Linked DNA regions of Homo sapiens: all the other regions are linked to region 2. Evidence: promoter capture Hi-C in 16 types of primary human blood cells and fetal thymus (Javierre and others, 2016). All regions are on one chromosome and are shown on one strand. Each heading gives the region's core, a stretch centred on a gene start or on the middle of the fragment in contact. The rest is flanking DNA. Distances are from core to core; before and after follow the strand shown.

Region 1 (4,064 bases), core at 404-2,903, 310 kb before region 2:
TGAGTGAGAACACAGGATGTTTGGTTTTTCATTCCTGAGTTACTTCACTTAGAATAATGGTCTCCAATTCCAACCAGGTTGCTGCGAATGCCATTGTTTCATTCTAAAGCTACTTTCTCTAAGGTGGGGTCTGAAGTGGTTAAGAGTGAAGAGCTGAGCCTGAGTTTAAATCTCGATCCACCACGCATTATCTGTGTGATCTTGCGCAAATTAAACTTCTCCATGATTCACTGTTCTTACATGTGAAGTGAGGATAAAAAGAGTTGATACATTTAAAGTACTTAGAATAATGCCTAGCACGCTGTCTAAAAATTGGTGATTATTATGACTGAAGATGTGTAATTGCATTTTCTGTACAATCTACCCTTTAGGAACCTTGATTCCTTTCTCTGGTTTTCTGAGGAGGGCCTTACTGGAGTGAACACTTCTTTTATTTTTGCCTTTTATTTTATTTTATTTTTTGAGTCAGGGTCTCACTCTGTCACCCAGGCTGGATTGCAGTGGCATGATCACAACTCACTGCAGCCTCAAATTCCTGGGATCAAGTGATCCTCCCCGCAAGCCTCCCAAGTAGCTTGGACTACAGGTGCACACCACCACACCCTGCTAATTTTTCTAAAACAAATTTTTATAGAGACCAGGTTTTGCTATCTTGCCCAGGCTGGTCTTGAACTCCTGGGCTTAAGCAATCCTCCTGCCTCAGCCTCCCAAAGTGCTAGGATTACAGCATGAGCCACGGCACCAGGCCTTTATTATTTATTTATTTATTGTTAGAGACAGAGTCGATCTTAGCTCGCTGCAGCCTTAAACTCCTGGGCTCAAGCCAGCCCACCTCAGCCTCCCCAGTAGCTGGGATTACAGGTGCTCGCCACAACACCCAGCGGATTTTTAGATTTTTTTTTTTTTTTTTTTTGTAGAGACAGGGTCTCCCTTTGTTGTCCAGGTGGATCTTGAGCTCCTGACTTCAAGTGATCTTCCTGCCTCTGCCTCCCCAAGTGTTGAACACTTCTGATTACTCCACTCCATGGAATGAGTGACTGATCTGATTGGTGGGATGGGAACTGGCAGGCTTCTATTGGGCCACACTACCAGTAGGTGAGGCCACTGCACTCCATCCTAAGCTAGACTCTCTCTGGGATCTGTGTGGGGCTAAGCGGAGTGAGGTGCTCTCCTCTGCCTTTCCCTGGTTTCTCTGCTTGTTACTGGGTGGTTAAGTTGAATTCCAAGGTGTGAGAGAGGAGACCTGCAGCATTTTCCTTTCCAGGTTTACTAGGATAAAGGCTGATTTCTTCATCCCCACCTGGCTCCTAGCATCTATTCTCAATTGGTTCAAACTCTGAGCGGAGGAAGGGAAATGAATAGCACCCCAAAACCTCAAATATTGGAGGAAAACTACACATGCAGCCTTAATCTAGTGCTTGAATTTGTCTTCCAGAAAAGCTTCATTATTTTCCTGAAATATATAAATGTATTGGTCCTCTGAAATTCATTTCAGAGCTAATAAATGAAATGAAATAACAGGGCCATTAATAAAGTCACAAATGCATTTTTTTAAGCTGGAGGAAAAAAATGGCAATTCTCTTTTGGCTGTGCATTCTCTGATTTTCACAAATAAGAACTTTTACATCATTAGTGAAATGAGAATGTATGACACCATTCCTGCAGATTGAAACAATCTGGAGAGGGCAGACCTTGTTTTATTTTTATTTCTCCATCTCCCCTTTGGCATGAAAAATTGGTCTGAGGGTTTTTGTTTTTATACCTGTTTACCTTTGCCTTAAGATTCTGAGAAGATCTGGCAGAATATCCTAACCCACTGGGTTCTTCTACAGAGACAACTTACTTGTTTTCATCTTACTGGCAAAAGAAGCTTTTCACGTTCAAAGGATACAGAGGACCACACAGAGAGTGATAGATGCCGACAGAATAACCCGTGGAATTCCAACTCTCCGTCCTTCATTCTTGATGTTGACCTTGAGTGTCAGCGCAGCCTGGATCCAGCAGGTCAATGTGCCAAATCCAAAGGTCAAGGAAGTTCCGACGTTATGGATTTCTTCATCATTTGTGAGCTTAGGGATGAATGGATAATGACACATGAAGGCCCATTCAGCAAAGAAGACAGGCAAGTTGAAGGAATGAATATATGAGGGGAAAAGATAGGAAAAGAAATATCCCAATAATGGGATGATAGATTGCAGAAAGATTAGCTCTTCGTTCTATTCTCAAATGGTTTGAACTCTGAGGGGATGAAGGAAATAAATAATACCCCCAACCCTTAAAAACATTTGTGTAGAAAAAGTAAAAGAAAACAGAAGGAGAGTTACAGAAAAAGAAATGTTTCTACAAGCATACACCCCAAACTTTTCCAGGATAAGAAAATTAGACCAGGAATTTGGACATGGTTTTTTTTGTTTGTTTGTTTTTGTTTTGGTTTGTTTGTTTGTTTTGAGACAGGGTCTTTACTCTGTCTCCCAGGCTAAAATACAGTGGCGTGATCACGGCTCCCTGGCTCAAAGCGATCCTCCCACCTCAGCCTCTGGAGTAGCTGGGACCACAGGTACATGCCACCATGCCTGGCTAATTTGTTTGTTTTGAAGGAAAATTTGTATTACTTTAATTGTTTTTTAAGTACAGAAAACTCAACAGTGTATATTTAACCCAGCTTGGTGGCAAGTTCTTTAGCCTTTGCCTTTTTGAGCTTAGCAATGTGAGCCACAGACTTGGGACCCAGGACATTGCCTCCCCAGTGATGGCGGATCTCATCGGATCTGTTTTTGTAATTGGTCCTGATAGCTTCCACCCGCTTAGCCAAAGCTCCTTTGTCTTCCAAGTTAACCTGTGTGAAGACAACAGTGGTGCAGGTCTTCCTGTGGACTAGACGTCCCAGTCTTGCCTTCCTCTTGATAATGCAGCAAGAGACCCCCATTTTACGACACAGGGCAGGCAGGAAGACAGCTAGCTCGATGGGATCCACATCGTGTGCAATCACCACCAGCTGAGCCTTTTTGTTTTCCACCAAGGTGGTGACAGTGTTAACTCCTACTCGAAGGGCAGGTGGTCTCTTAGTGGGGACGTCCTCTTTGCAGGCAGCTTTCTTCTCAGCCTGGGCCAACAGCTTCTGCTTCTTCTCTTGCTTTGTCTCTGGTCTGTACCTGTGGGCTAGCTTAAGCAGCTGAGTAGCTGCTTGGCATCCAGGGCCTGGGTGAACTGGTTAATTGCAGAAAGCACTTACAGAGGTTAATTGCAGCCGCTTATAGAGGATGGCTGTCTGCCACTGCAACCTGATATAGCGGGGCAATTTCACAAAGCGAGTGAGGTCACTTTTGGGCTGGATGTCCTGTCCAATGCCAAAATTCTTAGGCCTTTTCTCAAACCAGGGATTCACCACTTTCTTGGCCTCCTGCTTCTTCATGACAGCAGGGGCCGGAGCCACCTTCTTTACTTTGGCCTTCTTTCCTTTCAGCACCTTTGGCAGCAGGAGGAGAGCGCTAATTTTTTATTTTTTTTATTTTTATAGAGATGGTGTCTCCCTATGTTGCCCAGACTGGTCATGAACTTCTGAGCTCAAGTAATCCTCCCGCCTCGGCCTCCCAAAGTGCTGAGATTACAGGCGTGAGCCATCAATCCTGGCCAATATATATTTACTGATGGAGGACAGCCAATTCTAGGCAAGTCAATATTTAATTGGCACAGACAACTAAAACCCTTTAAGCTCTGTTCTTCACGCTTGCAAAACTGGCCCGTCTATGTAATGTGACTAATTCTTGTTTTTTTTTTTGGTTTTTTTTTTTGAGACGGAGTGCTCTGTCGCCCAGGCTGGAGTGCAGTGGCACTCAGTTCACTGCAATCTCTGTTTCCTGGGTTCAAGCGATTCTTCTGCCTCAGCCTCCCAAAGTGCTGGGATTACAGGCGTGAGCCACCATGGTGCCTGGCCTAAATAATTGTTTTTTGTTGTTGTTGTTGTTGTTTGTTTGTTTGAGACAGAGTCTCACTCTGTCACCCAGGCTGGAGTGCAGTAGTGCGATCTCCACTCACTGCAACCTCAGACTCCTGAGTTCAAGCGA
Region 2 (3,705 bases), core at 630-3,129:
TGAGAGAAGGAAAGATGAAGCAGGAGATTTCCCAGAGCTTTGGGGAGACTTTAAAGGCTTTAGGGATCCCCAAAGATCCTACCTCTCTCACCATCCGTCAACTCTGCTATGCCCTCCCTGAGCCACACCCCCTAAGAGGTACCCACTTCTGGATGGGTTTACTTCCAAGAGCAGGGACTGCAGGATTTCAAGGGAAGGCTTGGAACCATAGTGGCCCCATTATCTACCTAGGCATTTGCAGCTGGCACCATGCCAAAAAAGCCCTGTAGAAAGAGGTCTTATTTTCTTCCTTCCTCTTCCCCTCTGGAAATAAAAGTAGGTTGTGTTTCTCCTGCCCGCCCCTAGAGATCAGGGAAACGGGAGCTGGAAGGGCATCTTGGATTACCTCGTCAAATTCTCACTCAGCATATCAATGCCTGTGCCTTTTGTCCTGGCTACTGCCGCTTCAGTAAAGGAGGCCAAAACCAGTTATTGCGGCCAGGGCGGCTGCGAAGTGGTTCAAAGATCAACGACTGGGGTCGTGTAGGGTGGGCACGCAGTCCCTGGGGCCCAGGGGAAGGGGAATGGTGGTCGGCGCCCGGGCTCCCTTCCCTACTGGCAGGAGTGGGGGTGCACGGAAGGAGGGTACCAGGAGAGCCACAGGTTCCCACTGGCCACATGGGAACAGGGTTTGGAGAAGGCTCTGCACAGCCACAGTCGGAGCTTCGTGCTAGGGTCAGACCGCTCTCGCCATGGGATCGGTTTGCTCACCGAGAAACTTCACCGAGAACTGCAAATGGGCATAGAAGATTGCGGAGGGGGCAGGGACAGGGGCCTTGGAGAGGCAAGAGGGGAACCGGTATCTTCCATCTGGTGCGCGTAAACCAAGACTCTATCCTGTGCCGGGTCTCTCCTCCCCGGTCCAACTCCCTTACTTGTCCTCATCTCTGTCCCCAAGGTCCGTGACCCGCGGAGGTGATGGGGGGGATAGGAGAGCCCCAGGGACCGCAGAGGTGACACAATCGCCCGCCCGTCCTCCCTCGCTGGGAGCCGATTCAGCCTGTGCCGAGCCTCTCCCTTCGCGCGCCTCTGCGCACAGCGGTGGCACCGCAGGACTCCGGGTCCCCCCCGGCTCTCCATCGGGAAGCCGGCAAATGCGCTTCCTCAGGCAGACCGCGGCGGGGTGGGGGCGGGGGGGGGGCGGAAGTTGAAATACTGGGACAGAAACACCTGCCCGTCCCAAGGGACGGAAAACTGGATGCCAAGGGGGCCGCGGCGCGCAGCGGGAGGCGAGGGGAGACCGGGGGTCGCTGCGCACCGCCCGCAGCCGAGGGGCGAGCGGCGACCTCGCGCGCCCCAGCGCGGCCTGGCCACGGAGGCCGGGGCGCAGGGGGCGCCGGCGGGACTTACCCCAGAGCAGAGTGAGTGGCTTGGCTTTGGGGATGAGCACCAGGGAGTACACGGCCCCCAAGTGGAGCAAGCTCATCAGGACGACATTCCTCCAGACGATGTTCTGCCGCTGCCCGCGCGCGCCTGGCCTCTCCGGGCCGCCGCCGCCCTCAGAGCTTTCGAGCCCGGCACGGATTTCTTCCTTGGCGTCGCAGAAAGGGATCTTCCCCGCGTCGGTGGCCGGGCCTGGCATGGCTGGGCGAGGTGGGCGCCCGCAGCAGCGGCAGGCAGGCAGGCGCTCTGCCCGAGCGGAGCTCGAGGGTGGGGGCGGGGGCTTCTGCCTTTTAGGGGGGAATTCTCCGCACGTCCAGTCCCCTCCTTCCAGCCCTTCTCCCGGGCTCCTGCGCTCTTCCCCAGGGTCTTAGCGTGGCCTAGGGATGCAGATCTTGGCGGCCGGCGTCTGTTGCTGGCGTATCCCCCATATGGCTGCCCGGGCTGAACTCGGCCGCGAGAAAGAGGAGGCGCGCGCGGGGCGGGAGGGGCGCGCGGCCGGGGAGGAGGAGCTGTGAAAATGGAACGGGGCCGGCGACGCTGGAGGGAGCGCTCCGAAGGAGCGCGGAAGAAAGCCCTGCTTAGCTACAGCCAATCAGGAGCGCCCGTGCGGCGCTTATAGACAAAGGCGCCCCCCTTTCGGCTTTTCGGGGCCGAACTGGGGAGCCCGCTGGGCGGGAGTTGGCCGCCTCCGCCCGGGGGCGGGTGGAAGGTGGCTCCCGGGGCAGGGAGCCTGCAGGGCGGCTCACAGCGCTTCTGCTCTTGTGTGTGTGTGACCCCCAAAATGCCTTTTATGGTATTTTTCCAGTCCCCCCCCCAAAAAAAAACTTCCCGAAACTGTCATCCCTTTGAGAAGCCTTTTATTTCTTCTCAAGCCTCAGGCCACCTGGGTTGGAGAATTTTAAATACTTGCTTGGAGTCGCGACCCTAGTTAAGGCCAGACCCACGATGAGAATCAGAAGTCCCTCAATCTGCCAGTTAGTAGGGCTCCTCGGGCCAGGGGAGGGTTGGAAGGCAGCTGCTCGTTCTTAATTAGGCAGCTGTGGATTACCCAGGCACACAGTAAGTGCTCAGTTGGTGCTTGTGAGGTGATGCACAGATGATTTGGGCCAGTTCGCTGCCCACCCTTTGCCCATCCGCCGCGCCACTCTGTTTATGGTCAATTCTAGCTAATCAGCGCACTTCTGCAACGCCTCCTTAGCTCTCAGTGAGGAACACTACCCTGAAATCAACACCATTGAGAATCGGGCTTTACAAAAAAATCACCCAGAATGTTCCAAGGAAAATTAACCTGTGAAAGATTTGTGTCTGCCCACTTCTCTCCTAGAGCTGATGGCTTAAGAGCTCTCCAGAGAGGACCCTAGTTGCACAGAAAATGGAGGGAGGATTGAGCTGGAAGTGTCTGAAGCAGGTGTGACCGCAATTGCGGGCAGGCAGCAGAAGTAAAAGGGCTCGGGACAGCATCTCTGAGTTCTAGTTTTAACTGGCTGGAACCCAGCCCAACTCTCTGGGCACGGATTTCCTTACCTGAGAAGCAGAACTAGTTTCTACTCTTCCTTCCAGCTTCCATATTCCATGAATGTGAGTTCGAAGGGGCGCCATTATATTGACCAAAACCAGCTGATTTTTAGATTAACCGTTGTTAGGAATCATTTCCAGGATTTCAAGAGAGGCAAAAAAATTTAAAAGACTGACTGCATGAAAGGGCCATGCATAAGCATCTTATTGTTAGCAGACCTGAGCCAGTCCTAGCAGCCAGACAAAACAATGCCTGATTTAAGCTAAAGCAAGGTATGTGGCACTTGTGGAATCTAGGCCACTGAGTCAGTGTTACTGTGTTGCTTCAGACGGAGCTGAAATTATAGAATTTGCCTGGAGACCAGATAAATGTCGGCCCTATATAATGACCAGTCAGACAGTGGAACATGAAGCTGGAGGGTGCGATTTTCATCTGTCTGTTCAACCTGGGCTATGTAATGAACCACGTTTTCTTCTCATGCTCCCTCTGCTCCCCATACCCAGCAGACCTTCCTACTCCCTGTGGCTCTCTAGTTCAGACTGTCCTTTCTCTCTGGGGTAGACTAGTTGCTCGGCCAAAAGCCTCTCTCCGGGTTATTGGAAAGGCTCAATGCTGTAAAGACCCTCATTCTAAACATTCAGTCATTTATTTGGCATTTATTGGGCATCTGCTATGTGCCAGGACCAGTGGGCACAGGGGATCCAAGGATGAATAAAGTCTGGTCCCGCCCCTAAAGGAGCTCCCATCTAGAAGCAAAGATGGAGCAA
Region 3 (3,613 bases), core at 282-2,781, 360 kb before region 2:
TGTAGCCCTTCCTTCTGTGGAATGATGGAAGGAAACATTGAGTACTGTATACGTGCAGTACTCAATCCTTGACTCATTCTAAAAGACCATGAGGTGTATGTACTGTCTACACTTTACTTAGGATGAAACAAAGCCTCTGAAAAGTTGAACAAGATGCCTGGGATTTGAACTCAGATTGTCTTATTCATAAAAACTCTTATTTTTTCCATTACTGCACTCAGCCTTGGAAATGGGATGCTACTGTTTGTCCTGTCTCCTTTGCTTGGTGGTTGTGTATGTTAAATGACACAGTTAGTATGAGAGTTCTTTAATCAATGTGAAGTACTGTGCTATAAAAGTATATGGTAACAAGCCAGGTACGGTGGCTCAGGCATGTAATCCCAGCACTTTGGGACGCCGAAGCAGGTGGATCTCTTGAGGTCAGGAGTTCGAGGCCAGCCTGGCCAACATGGTGAAAGCCAGTCTCTACTAAAAATACAAAAAGTAGGCCAGGCATGGTGGCTCATAATCCCAGCACTTTGGGAGGCCGAGACAGGTGGATCACCTGAGGTCAGGAGTTTGAGACCAGCCTGGTCAACATGGTGAAACCCCGTCTCTACTAAAAATACAAAAATTAGCCGGGCATGGTGGTGGGCACCTGTAATCCCAGCTACTCAGGAAGCTGAGGCAGAAGAATCACTTGAACCCAGGAGGTGGAGGTTGCAGTGAGCCGAGATTGTACCACTGCCTTCCAGCCTGGGCAACAGAGGAAGACGCTGTCTCAAAAAAAGAAAAGAAAAGAAAAAAAGGAATAAATAATTCAAAAATTAGCTGGGCATGGTGGCGCACACCTGTAATCCCAGCTACTGGGGAGGCTGAGGTGGGAGAATCGCTTGTACCTGGGAGGCGGAGGTTGCAGTGAGCCGAGATCGTGCCAGTGCACTCCAACCTGAGTGACAGAGCGAGACTGTCTTTAAAAAAAAAAAAAAGTATATGGTAACAAATTTCAGTTTATAGCATGTCTTTGTGTCTTGCCTGAGGATCATCAAAATTTGTTGGGAGTAGAGCTGCAGCAGAGCCCAGTTTTCCTTAGATGTTCCCACCGCATCTAAATCCACCGCCACCATCCCTGCACTTTACCGCAGGACACATACCTCTGGTGTTTGTTCTTTTTTGTCTTTGTTTTTCTGAAGCAGGGTCAGGCTGTGTCACCCAGGCTGGAGTACAGTGGCACGATCACAGCTCACCGCAACCTCGACCTCTCAGGCTTAAGCAATCCTCCTACCTCAGTCTCCTGAGTAGCTGGGACCACGAGTGTGCACCACCATGCCTAGCTAGCTTATTTTTATTTTTTATAAAGATGGGGTTTCACAGTGTTGCCCAGGCTGTTCTCAAACTCCTGGACTCAAACAGTCCTCCCATCACGGCTTCCCAGAGTGCTGGGATTATAGGCATGTGCCACCATGTCCAGCTAATTTTTAAAATTTTTTGCAGAGATGGGGTCTCACTGGGTTGTCCAGGCTGGTAAAGCATTTTTAGAAATAGTGAATTCATTCTTGATTATTTAACAGTCCTCTTTATGTCCTCTTATAATGTATTTTAGAAGATAATAATTGGGGAGTGTTGCAGTTAACATCTTTCTTATGAAAACTGCTATATTAAATTATGGTCTTTTTAGGAAGAGAGCTTTAAAGTCTGATAGTTATCTCCCAACTTTGGTTAAACATCCATTTGATAAGTAGTATTACTTCTATTATTGCCAGCATTGAGAAGTGTAGGATGCGCACTCTGCCTGCACAATGAAACAGCTAGAAGACAGCCTACAAGGAATGGCACACTGGAAGCATTCTTCTACCTGTGCTATTTATTATTGACACCAGTAACTGTAATAGGGTCTCTTTCCCTATCTTCATTCAGTCTACGGATTTAGGCTTTTTCATCCGCAGGGATGGGCTACTAGGATATGCTTTGTTTATAAAGGTGGTGATGAAGGTTAAATAAGATGGAATTCAAAAGCCTTTGAAAATTACGAAGTCCTATAGAAACACTGATTATAATGCAGGAAGTGTCAGACTGGAGGAAATAGAAAGTGCTTATGAAGGAAGGATTGATAAGGAAAAGAGGGATCTTACATTTCCTGAAACCCACCATGCTCCCAGTTACGTCTACCATGGTTACTCCCAGTGACTTCTGCTCCTTATTGCCCTACCCAGAAATATGTTAAAAATAAGACGCAGGATATTGTTGATCTCTAAGAATTTGTGGAAGCACTGGAATGGCAGATAAGTAGTTGTTGATGGGTTGATAAACAACTGCCCCCCTCTCCCCAAACTTTTCTACTGCTTAGGGCAGTGTTTCCCAGCTACATTCATGGTAGTACGTGAGAGGATTTTTGTTGACTCAGCTTGAAACAAGGTGAGGAGTCTTTGGAGAATCACTGTCTTGCGTATATCAAGAGGTGGATGGAGGCTAGCCTTAGCCTTGGTGGCTCACACTTGTAATCCTAGCACTTTGGAAGGCCAAGGTGAGAGGATTGCTTGAACCTAGGAGTTCAAGACCAGCCTGCGCAATGTAGCATGACCTCGTCTCTACTAAAAATAAAAAAAGTTAGCCAGGTGTAGTGGCATGTGCCTGTGATCCCAGCTACTCAGGAGGCTGAGGTAGAAGGATCATTTGAGCCCAGGAGGTCAAGGCTGCAGTAAGCCATGATCGTGCCACTGCAGTCCAGCCTGGATGACAAAGCAAGACCCTGTCTCAAAAAAAAAAAAAAAAAATGGTGGATAGAAAGCACCTCTGGCCTCTGGGAGGAAGCTGTCCCACCTAGCTGGGAGGGACCTCACCTAGGATTCAGGAGACCTGGGCTGCCTACCACATGAGCCTTAGACAATCTGCTCACCCAGCCACCTGTTAGTTCCCTAAAGCTGGGACTGTCATGTTCATCCTGCTCTCACACAGAATATGTCATCGTCGTCATCATCATCATCATCATCCTATCGTTGTTGGAACCCAAAGAATCTGCATTAAGTAAATAATTCAGTATGGGCATGGTGGCTCACCCCTGTAATCCGAACACTTTGGGAGGCAAAGGTTGGAGGATCACTTGAGGCTAGGAGTTTCAGACCAGCCTGGGCAACATAGCAAGACCCTGTCTTAAAAAAAAATTATAAAAAAAGAAAGCACCTCTCACTTTGATTTCTGGTTCCTTATTTTTCTAGAACCTTCAGTATTGTGGCATTAGCATAATCTTTCCAGCCTAATCAATCCTTCTTTCCTTTCCCTCACATTTAATTGAATACCTGTCATGTTCCAGGATATGGTAGGGATCCAGAGTCCTTAAGACCCAGCTGTCACCCTCAGGTTCCTCAGGGAACCTAGAAAGGAAGACAGTTACATAAATAGGTCGCCTTTGCATAATCAAAGTCCTCTGTAGTCTCTCACTGGCTGTGAGATGAGAGTTCAACAAATTGGGTTTTCCAACTTTCTATCCCTCTCTTTACACTTTACATAGCTGAACATGCACATTCCAATCATGCCCTTTCTTGCTGCCACCATTCTTCCAGCTTGGAATGTCATACCTTTTCGTCTCCAAGTGTGGGTCCCATGCACTCATTAACTTAAAAAAAAATTACTTATT

What was found. Contacts are between HindIII fragments. The CHiCAGO score rates a contact against its expected background, and 5 or more counts as called.
Region 1: a contact is called between a fragment that was not itself captured here and the fragment with the promoter of SCD5 in region 2, in 4 of 17 cell types (M1 macrophages, M2 macrophages, megakaryocytes and 1 more). The highest score is 7.1, in M1 macrophages.
Region 3: a contact is called between a fragment that was not itself captured here and the fragment with the promoter of SCD5 in region 2, in 1 of 17 cell types (M2 macrophages). The highest score is 5.0, in M2 macrophages.

What each region holds. Positions count from the first base shown.
Region 1 is chr4:82,488,170-82,492,233 of GRCh38, forward strand. TMEM150C (transmembrane protein 150C) reads right to left here. Exons shown (of 8, transcript NM_001080506.3): 7 at 1,892-2,069. It also overlaps the pseudogene RPL7AP26. Among named protein-coding and RNA genes, the nearest start is that of ENOPH1, 60 kb to the left of the region's middle. The HindIII fragment of the contact is 430 bases long and covers 1,439-1,868 here.
Region 2 is chr4:82,796,917-82,800,621 of GRCh38, forward strand. It overlaps SCD5 (stearoyl-CoA desaturase 5), which reads right to left and starts at 1,880. Exons shown (of 5, transcript NM_001037582.3): 1 at 1,390-1,880. The coding sequence starts at 1,621. RefSeq lists enhancers at 106-627, 1,604-2,321, 2,322-3,038 and silencers at 1,436-1,485, 1,816-2,235. The HindIII fragment of the contact is 16,836 bases long and covers 1-3,705 here.
Region 3 is chr4:82,433,952-82,437,564 of GRCh38, forward strand. The region is part of intron 1 of ENOPH1 (enolase-phosphatase 1); the gene reads left to right. Among named protein-coding and RNA genes, the nearest start is that of ENOPH1, 5.2 kb to the left of the region's middle. The HindIII fragment of the contact is 7,870 bases long and covers 1-3,613 here.